Regions from separate parts of the Homo sapiens genome. Here region 2 is linked to region 1. Evidence: promoter capture Hi-C in human tissues and cell types (Jung and others, 2019). All regions are on one chromosome and are shown on one strand. Each heading gives the region's core, a stretch centred on a gene start or on the middle of the fragment in contact. The rest is flanking DNA. Distances are from core to core; before and after follow the strand shown.

Region 1 (4,142 bases), core at 867-3,366:
TAGTAGAGATGGGGTTTCATCATGTTGGGCAGGCTGGTCTCAAACTCCTGACCTCAAGTGATCCACTCACCTCGGCCTCCCAAAGTGCTGAGATGACAGGCGTGAGCCACTGCACCTGGCTAAGGTGCTTGCATGTGATACCTCCATAAGAAAAGTAAATATATCTACTTCTTTCAGAAAATATATGTATTATTTTATTATTTATCTTAAAAATAAGTAGGCCTGGTGCGGCAAATCATGCTTGTAATCCCAGCACTTTGGAGGGCCGAGGCAGGTAGATCACGATGTCAGAAGATCACGACCATTTTGGCCAACATGTTGAAACCCCCTCTCTACTTAAAATACAAAAGAATTAGCTGGGTGTGGTGGCACGTGCCTGTAATCCCAGCTACTCAGGAGGCTGAGGCAGGAGAATTGCTTGAACCCAGGAGGTGGAGGCTGCAGTAAGCCGAGATCACGCCACTGCACTCCAACCTGTTGACAGAGCGAGACTCTGTTTCAAAAAAAAAGTAAATAAATAAAATAATGTAGTAAAAAATTAGTCATATGGGAACACTTCTAGAAGGTACCATGTTTCATCACATATAATTTAGCATTTAACTCAGAACTCAACAGGATATAGAACTGAGATATTCACTGTCACAAATTTCCCCTGCAAAAAGAGGAACTAATGTGTTGACGAATCTATGTAACTCATCAATTATCTACCACATTTTCCTGTGGAAATATATTCATTGTCTACAGCCAAAATGGAAGAGAGATTTTCCCTATTTTTTTCCTTGGTAACTAGCATTCCTGGCTAACATACTGAAACTCCATCTCTACTAAAAATACAAAAATTAGCTGGGCGTGGTGTCGCGTGCCCATAGCCCCAACTACTCCAGAGGCTGAAGCAGAAGAATGCTTGAACCTGAGAGGCGGAGGTTGCAGTGAGCCGAGATCTGACACTGCACTCCAGCTCTGGCGACAGAGCGAGACTCCGTCTCAAAAAAAAAAAAATAAAAATAATAAATTGAGGAACATGGGGTACACTTGAGGCCTTGCTTGAGACACATGTGGAAAATGCCAGGGAAAATCAGTCCGCTGTGGCGTGTGAAAATAATTAAGTGGCAGGCAATTAGACTGAAGAAGCTCTAGTCCCTGGATTTCTACCTCAAAAAAAAAAAAATCTAAGCTCATGTGCATTTTTTGGGAAATTACTACATTAGGGGAAACAAAATTCAGGCTTAAGCAACTATAAACTGCCAATTAAACTGTAATTACATAACCAGGAATTTTTTTTTTTTTTTTGAGACGGAGTCTCACTGTCGCGCAGGCTGGAGTGCAGTGGCAAGATCTCAGCTCACTGCAACATCCACCTCCGGAGTTCAAGCGATTCTCTCACTTCTGCCTCCCGAGAAGCTGTGATTACAGACATCTGTCATCACACCCAGCTAATTTTTGCATTTTTAGTAGACATGGGGTTTCCCCATTTGGGCCAGGCTTATCTTGAAGTCCTGACCTCAAGTTATCCGCCTGCCTCGGCCTCCCAAAGTGCTGGGATTACAGGCGTGAACGACTGCGCCCGGCCCCATAAATTTTGAATAGCAGAAAACAGAAACTGTGAACTCCACGGACCAAAGCTCTTCCCATTCATGAACCTGCACCCCGAGTCAGGATTCTCCCCTGACGACCCTCTGGTGGTCCCTGCACATTCTGGGAGAGACGGGAGGCTGCGGTTGCAGAGCTGCCCACGGAGCGCTCCAGGCCAGAGCAGTCACTACGCAGGGAAGACACAGGACGCCAGGGGGCCCGGCTGTCAGCGTAGCCGCCAAATTATGGCTGAACGGGACTGAGGCCGAGCTGGGCAAGGAGAACTCAGGGTGCAGATTGTGGAGCTGACTGCGCAGAGGCCTGAGTCCCGCCACAGCCACTTCCCACCGGTTCCAACCAGCCTATCCCCCTCTCTCGGGATGTCGGACCGGCACTCTCACCATTTCTAGGCTTCCAGGGGCTCCCGGGCGTCTTAGCTGTGGATCTCCCAATACCTGCAGGACACAGGGCCACAGAGGCTGGGCCTCTAGGAGCAGAGGACACACAGCAGTGAAGACAAGACCTGGAGCTCCGGCTGCAGAGACAAAGGCCCCGCAAAACCCGGAAGCCTTCCGCTTCACTCTGGCTGCGTGCCTGATTGGACGGCTTCCAGCCCAGCGTCCCTGATTGGATAATGCTTAAATCCCCGCCCCCTCAGGCCCTGAGTGACAGAAGATATGATCAGATGCTGGGTTAAGTGAACAAAGAGTGCCAGCCTAAGCAGCTGGCTTTTCAAACAGTGCTTCCTCCCTGAGCTGAGCCAGGCCCACCCCAGAGCATGGGAATATTTTATCTCTTGTTTACTCTCTTTCTTGTTGAATGTATTAAAAAGGTGAACAGAAGTATTTTGCTGTCATTAATAATACATAAAATTTTTGTTCAACAGAAAATCAACTTTTACTTTGGTAATGGTAAAATCTATTAAAGCTAATTTTAATAAAACCTTATAAATAAATCAAATTTGTCATTTTTGAGCACTCCAGATTTACATATATATTTTGTAATATCTCGTAATTTTAAAAAACTATTTATATTTTATTTTTGTCCACATTCTTTTTATTTTTTCAATTTGAAACAATCTTTAATTTCCAACAGCTATAGGAGATAGAAATCATTTAGAGGCAGGCACGGATAGTTCACGCTGGTAATTCCAACACTTTGGGAGGCCAAGGTGAGCAGATCACTTGAGGTCAGGAGTTCAAGACAAGCCTAGCCAACATGGTGAAACCCCATCTCTAATAATAACTAATAAATAATAATAATAACTAATAATATAAAAAGTTACCTGGGTGTGGGGGTGCACATCTGTAGTCCCAGCTACACCGGAGGCTGAGGCAGGAGAATCACTTGAAGCCAGGAGGCGGAGGTTGTGTAACAGCCCAAGGGGTTTATTTTACCCTTTGCCTAGACAGAGCCGATTCATCAAGACAGGGGAATTTGTGGAGGAAAAGTCACATATTAAATCTGAACTCAATTGAATGTGGACACAAACAATTGTCACCAAGTCCCAGAACAGGTTGTGTGAGCCCCTGAGGTGTTCATCCAGCGCTGTATTGAAGAAATCTCTATTTCAATCTATTCCTATATATTAGTTGTTGAAAAACAATAGACAATCACAAAAAAAGGTTGACCTTTTTGTGTTCCTTGAGGCAAGTCGTGAAGGGCTCTCATCACTGGGCCTTATGCCAAACAACTCGTTACAAAAGAGCTAAGGTCCCAGACCGCCCTGAAGCTTCATAAGACCTCTCCTTGTCTGTGTACGATGGACGGGTGGCTGACTCTAGAGCTGTGGCTGTTGCCTCCCTCTCTGGTGGTGAATCCCCCATAGTCTGGTGAGGGAAAATATATATATATATATATATATATATATATATATATCTTTTCCCATTTCCTCGTCTTATTAAGATTGGCTTATTACATCAATCTGCTTATTATATTTATTTGCTTATTATATCATTTGCTTATTATATTATTACTTTATTATGTCTGCATTGCCATTTACGTGGGATAAAAGTTGTTTACCCTTAATGGTATTGTGTGTGTGTCTTTGTTTCTCCCCTCTCACATTTGCCTCACAGAACATTTTTGGCATCACAAATAGGATTTGAAAACAAAAGTGTACCCCTTTTTGACTAGAAGGACAGGGCTGGAGGGCTCAGGGACTTCCCATATCCTGGGATGGGAACTCCCCCAGTTCTCCCTCTTGGTGATTAAATGGTCAAGGGGAACTGGTTTTTGTGGGAATTGGGAATCTAAATTAGTGCAGTTTAAACCTTTGACTGTGCGGGAAGTGCTGCGGGGGATTCCAGTCAGCAAAGGAGATGCTGAGGGATCTCCCGGAGTGGATGGTGTTTGCTTACTGCTTATAAGTTAATGTATCGTGATAGGGGCTGGTTGCTACAAGATAAATGTAAGCGGAAAAGGAAAATGCTAATCTGACTTCCAGACTGGCCCAATGCCAGTCAATGTCTTGACTGATAAAGCTCAAAGCTATCAGCCTATCGCTGAAAAAAGCAGCTGTCCAGGTGGCCCAGTCAGGATAAAACTGAAGAACTAGTCAGCCGGGGCTT
Region 2 (4,142 bases), core at 893-3,392, 42 kb before region 1:
CAAGTGAAAGAGAAGAGAGGCTGGGATGAAGGGTGCGAAGAAATAGTAAAGAAAGCATGTTTGAGATTCAGAACAGACTAATGGGTTATGGAGGGGTTGTGGAGGGAGGTATTGAGGATAGGAAAGTATATGGTTTTGACACCAATGGGTGGATAGGCAAGACAATTGGTTGATAAGGTACAGATCCTGAAATAACCTGTAAGTCTTGTCTGGGTTTTGGACAGGTAAAATGGGGGAATTGTAAGGAGAGTTTATAGGCTTTAAAAGGCCATGCTGTAACAGGCAGGTGATAACGGGCTTTAATCCTTTGGGGTAAGGGTGATTAGGTTTTAATGGGATGGTAAGAGGTGCATGAATTGTCACCAAGGAGGGAGTAGAGGTGTCCTATACTTGTGGATTAAAATGGGGAGATACAAGGGGAGGATGTGAAGGAGGCTTTGAACTGGGGAAAAGGATGGCAATGAGGTGTGGCTGTAGCCTAGGAATAGTCAGGGAAGCAGATAATTTAGTTAAAATGTCTTGACCTAATAAGGGAGCTGGGCAGGTGGGGATAACTAAAAAGGAGTGCGTAAAAGAATGTGGTCCAAGCTGGCATCAGAGTTGGGGAGTTTTAAGAGGTTTAGAAGCCTGGCTGTCAATATCCACAACAGTTATGGAGGCAAGAGAAACACGCCCTTGAAAAGAAGGTAATGTGGGGTGGGTAGCCTCCGTATTGATTAAGAAGGGTATGGACTCACTTTCCACTGTAAGAGTTACCTAAAGCATCTGTGATGGTCCAGGAGGCTTCTGAGGTGATTAGGCAGTGTCAGTCTTCAGCCGCTAAGCCAAGAATATCTGGGAAGGAGTCAGTCAGAGAGCCTTGGGCTAGAGTTCCAGGGGCTCTAGGAGTGGCTGCCAGGCGAGCTGGACAGTCTGATTCCCAGTGGGGTCCCGCACAGATGGGACATGGCTTAGGAGGAATCCTGGGCTGCAGGCATTCCTTGGCCCAGTGGCCAGATTTCTGGCACTTGAAGCAAGATCCTGAGGGAGGCGGTCCTGTAGGAATGCCTGACCACTGTGGCTTAGGCATTTTGAAGTTCTTGTGTGCTGGAGGTGTGGCTGGGTTTTGTCTCATAGCAGAGGCAAGTAATTTTTACTCTTCTCTATTATTGTACACCTTGAAGGCAAGGTTAATTAAGTCCTATTGTGGGGTTTGAGGGCAAGAATCTAATTTTTGGAGCTTTTCTAATGTTGGGAGTGGGTTGGGTAATAAAATACATATTGAGAATAAGACGGCCTTCTGCCCTTTCTGGGTCTAGGGCGGTAAACCATCTAAAGTTGTTGCCAAATGGGCCATGAACTGGGTTGAGTTTCTATATTTGATGAAAAAGAGCCTAAATGCTAACTGATTTGGGAAAGGTCAGATAAAGAAAAAGGAGTGTTAACCTTGGCTATGGCTTCAGCTCCAGCCACCTTTTTAAGAGGAAATTGTTGGGCAAGTGGGAGAGGGCTAGTCATGGAATGAAACTGTAAGCCAGACCGGGTGTGAGGAGGGGAGGTGATAAAAGGATTATAGGGTGGGGGAACGGAGGCTGATGAAGAACTGGGACCTGGCTTGGCCTGGCGAGGAGCAGCTTGGGGAGGAGAGGACAGGTGGGTCTGTAGAAAAGGAAGATTGAAAAGACTCAGTGATGCTTGGGGTTGGGACTGAAGGGACAGGTGGGAGGGAAAGAAGGAGGATTTGTGATGAGTCGCATTGGGAACAGAGATTAGGGAGGGACCAATGTGTAAAAGAATGCCTGGACATCAGGCATCTCACACCATTTGTCTTTTTTGACAAAAATCATCCAGGTCTTGTAAAATGGAGGAATCAAAAGTGCCATTTTCTGGCTATTTAGAACCATTATAGAGTTTGTATTGGGGCCAAGTGGTGTTGCAGAAGAAAATAAGATGCTTAGGTTTTAGGTCAGGTGAGAGTTGAAGAGGTTTTAAGTTTTTAAGAACACAGGCTAAGGGAGAAGATGCAGGAATGGAGGTCAGAATGTTGCCCATAGTGAAGGATGTAAGTTTAAGGAGAAAGGTAGAGACATGGAGAAGAGGGTGGTGAGCAGCCCTGGGCTGCAATATGGGTGAGCATCCAAAGCAGGTGTCCCCGCAATTAACTTGCCACCAAGGGAATGTGGGTGAATGACCAAGGCAGATGTCCCCACGGTGATCAGACGCCAATGAAATGTGGGTGAATAATCAGGCAGGCATCCCCACAGTGATTAAACACCAAGGGAAAACTGTCTTCCTGAGTCTAAGACTGGCACCGGAGTTTTGGGTCCACGGATAAAATGTGTCTCCTTTGTCTGTACTAGAGAGGAAAAAGAACTGGAGTTGGAAGGACAGGGAGATTGAAGGGTAGCAAGAGAGGCTGGAGAAGAGAGTGAAAAGACCGCTTACCCGATTTGAAATTGGTGAGATGTTCCTTGGACTGGTTGGTCTGAGGACCCGAGGTCATAGGTAGATTTCCTCACGGAGTGAGGGCGGGGACAGGCCTCCCGAAGGATTACCTCTGTCCTGGGTTTTTGGCACCAAATGTCATGCGTGTCCATGTGAAGAGCCCACCAAACAGGCTTCGTGTGAACAATAAAGCTTTTTAATTACCTGGGTGCAGGCAGGCTGAGTCCAAAAAGAGAGCGAAGGGAAATAGGGGTGGGGCCATTTTATAAGATTTGGGTAGGTAATGGAAAATTACCGTCAAAGGGGGTTGTTCTCTGGTGGGCAGGGGCGGGGGTCACAAGATGCTCAGTGGGGGAGCTTCTGAGCCAGAAGGAATTTCACAAGGTAATGTCATCAGTTAAGGCAGGAACAGGCCATTTTCACTTCTTTTGTGATTCTTCAGTTACTTCAGGCCATCTGGATGTATACATGCAAGTCACAGTGGATATGATCGCTTAGCTTGGGCTCAGAGGCCTGACATGCGTGTTTATCTATAAATACGATGCCAATTTTACTTATGGCTTATCTCATATTCTTTGTTAGCTGATTTTCGATGGTAGTTTTATCTTGTCTAAGTGAGTAGTCGTGGAGATAGTCATTATCACGATGTGTTTAATGATGAATATATATTTTCTTTTTGTGAGAGAAACACTTTTGTGATTTGAAGTTAATTTTTAAAAAGATTTACCATTCTGTATTTTTGTCAGTTTTTCCTTGAAAACGTTGTTTTAAAAACACATAACATAAAATTTACCATCTTAAATTTATTGAAGTGTATATTTCACAGCCAGCTGTGGTTGTGGCTCTCATCTGTAATCCCAGAATTTTGGGAGGTCAAGACAGGAGGATATCTGGAGCTGAAAAGTTTGAGACCAGCCTGGGGAATACATGGAGACCCCTCTCCATAAAAAAAAACTTAATAGTAGCCAGGTATGGTGGTGTGCAGCTGTGGTCCCAGCTACATGGGAGATTGAGGAGGAGTCAAAATTGTGCCTCTACACTCCAGCTTGGGTGACAGAGTGAGACCCTGTCTCAAAAAAAAAAAAAAAAAAATGCTGTTCACTTCAGGCATGTTAAGTATATTCACATTGTTGTGCAAAAGATTTCTAGAAACTTTACATATTGCAAAACTAAAACTCAGTAACCATTAAGTAACAACATCTCATTTTACCCTCTCTCCAGCTTTTGGCAGACAAAACTTCCACTTTTTGTTTTTATGATTTTGACTACTTAAGATATCTCATATAAGTGGAATCATACGGTATCCATAATTTTGTTACTGGATTAATTCAACTGACATAATATTCTCAATGTTCATCTTAAAATGTGACAAGATTGTTCTTTTTAAGGTGGAATAATATTCCATCGCATGTATATGTTACATTTTTTGATACGTTTATAAATCAAGGAACATCTAGGTTGCTTCAGACTTTTGGCTTTTGTGAATACTGGTATAATAAAGATGAATTTTCAAATATGCCTCCCAGGTCCAGTGTTGCATTTTTTTTTTTTTTTTTTTTCCCGCAGACGGAGTATTGCTTTGTCGCCTAGGCTGGAGTGCAGTGGTGTGATCTTGGTTAACTGCAACTTCTGCCTCCTGGGTTCAATCGATTCTCCTGCTTCAGCCTTTCGAGTAGCTGGGATTATAGATACCCACCACCACACCCAGCTAATTTTTT

What was found. Contacts are between HindIII fragments. The study calls those that stand out against the background at their distance.
Region 2: a contact is called between a fragment that was not itself captured here and the fragment with the promoter of ZNF737 in region 1, in 1 of the 25 tissues and cell types used here (mesendoderm cells).

Annotation. Positions count from the first base shown.
Region 1 is chr19:20,563,665-20,567,806 of GRCh38, forward strand. It overlaps ZNF737 (zinc finger protein 737), which reads right to left and starts at 2,117. Exons shown (of 4, transcript NM_001159293.2): 1 at 1,974-2,117. The coding sequence starts at 1,976. All of the region lies in intron 2 of LOC105372316 (a long non-coding RNA gene), which reads left to right. RefSeq lists enhancers at 1,550-1,709, 1,920-1,969. The HindIII fragment of the contact is 4,540 bases long and covers 1-3,960 here.
Region 2 is chr19:20,521,528-20,525,669 of GRCh38, forward strand. All of the region lies in intron 2 of LOC105372316 (a long non-coding RNA gene), which reads left to right. Among named protein-coding and RNA genes, the nearest start is that of ZNF737, 42 kb to the right of the region's middle. The HindIII fragment of the contact is 4,311 bases long and covers 1-4,142 here.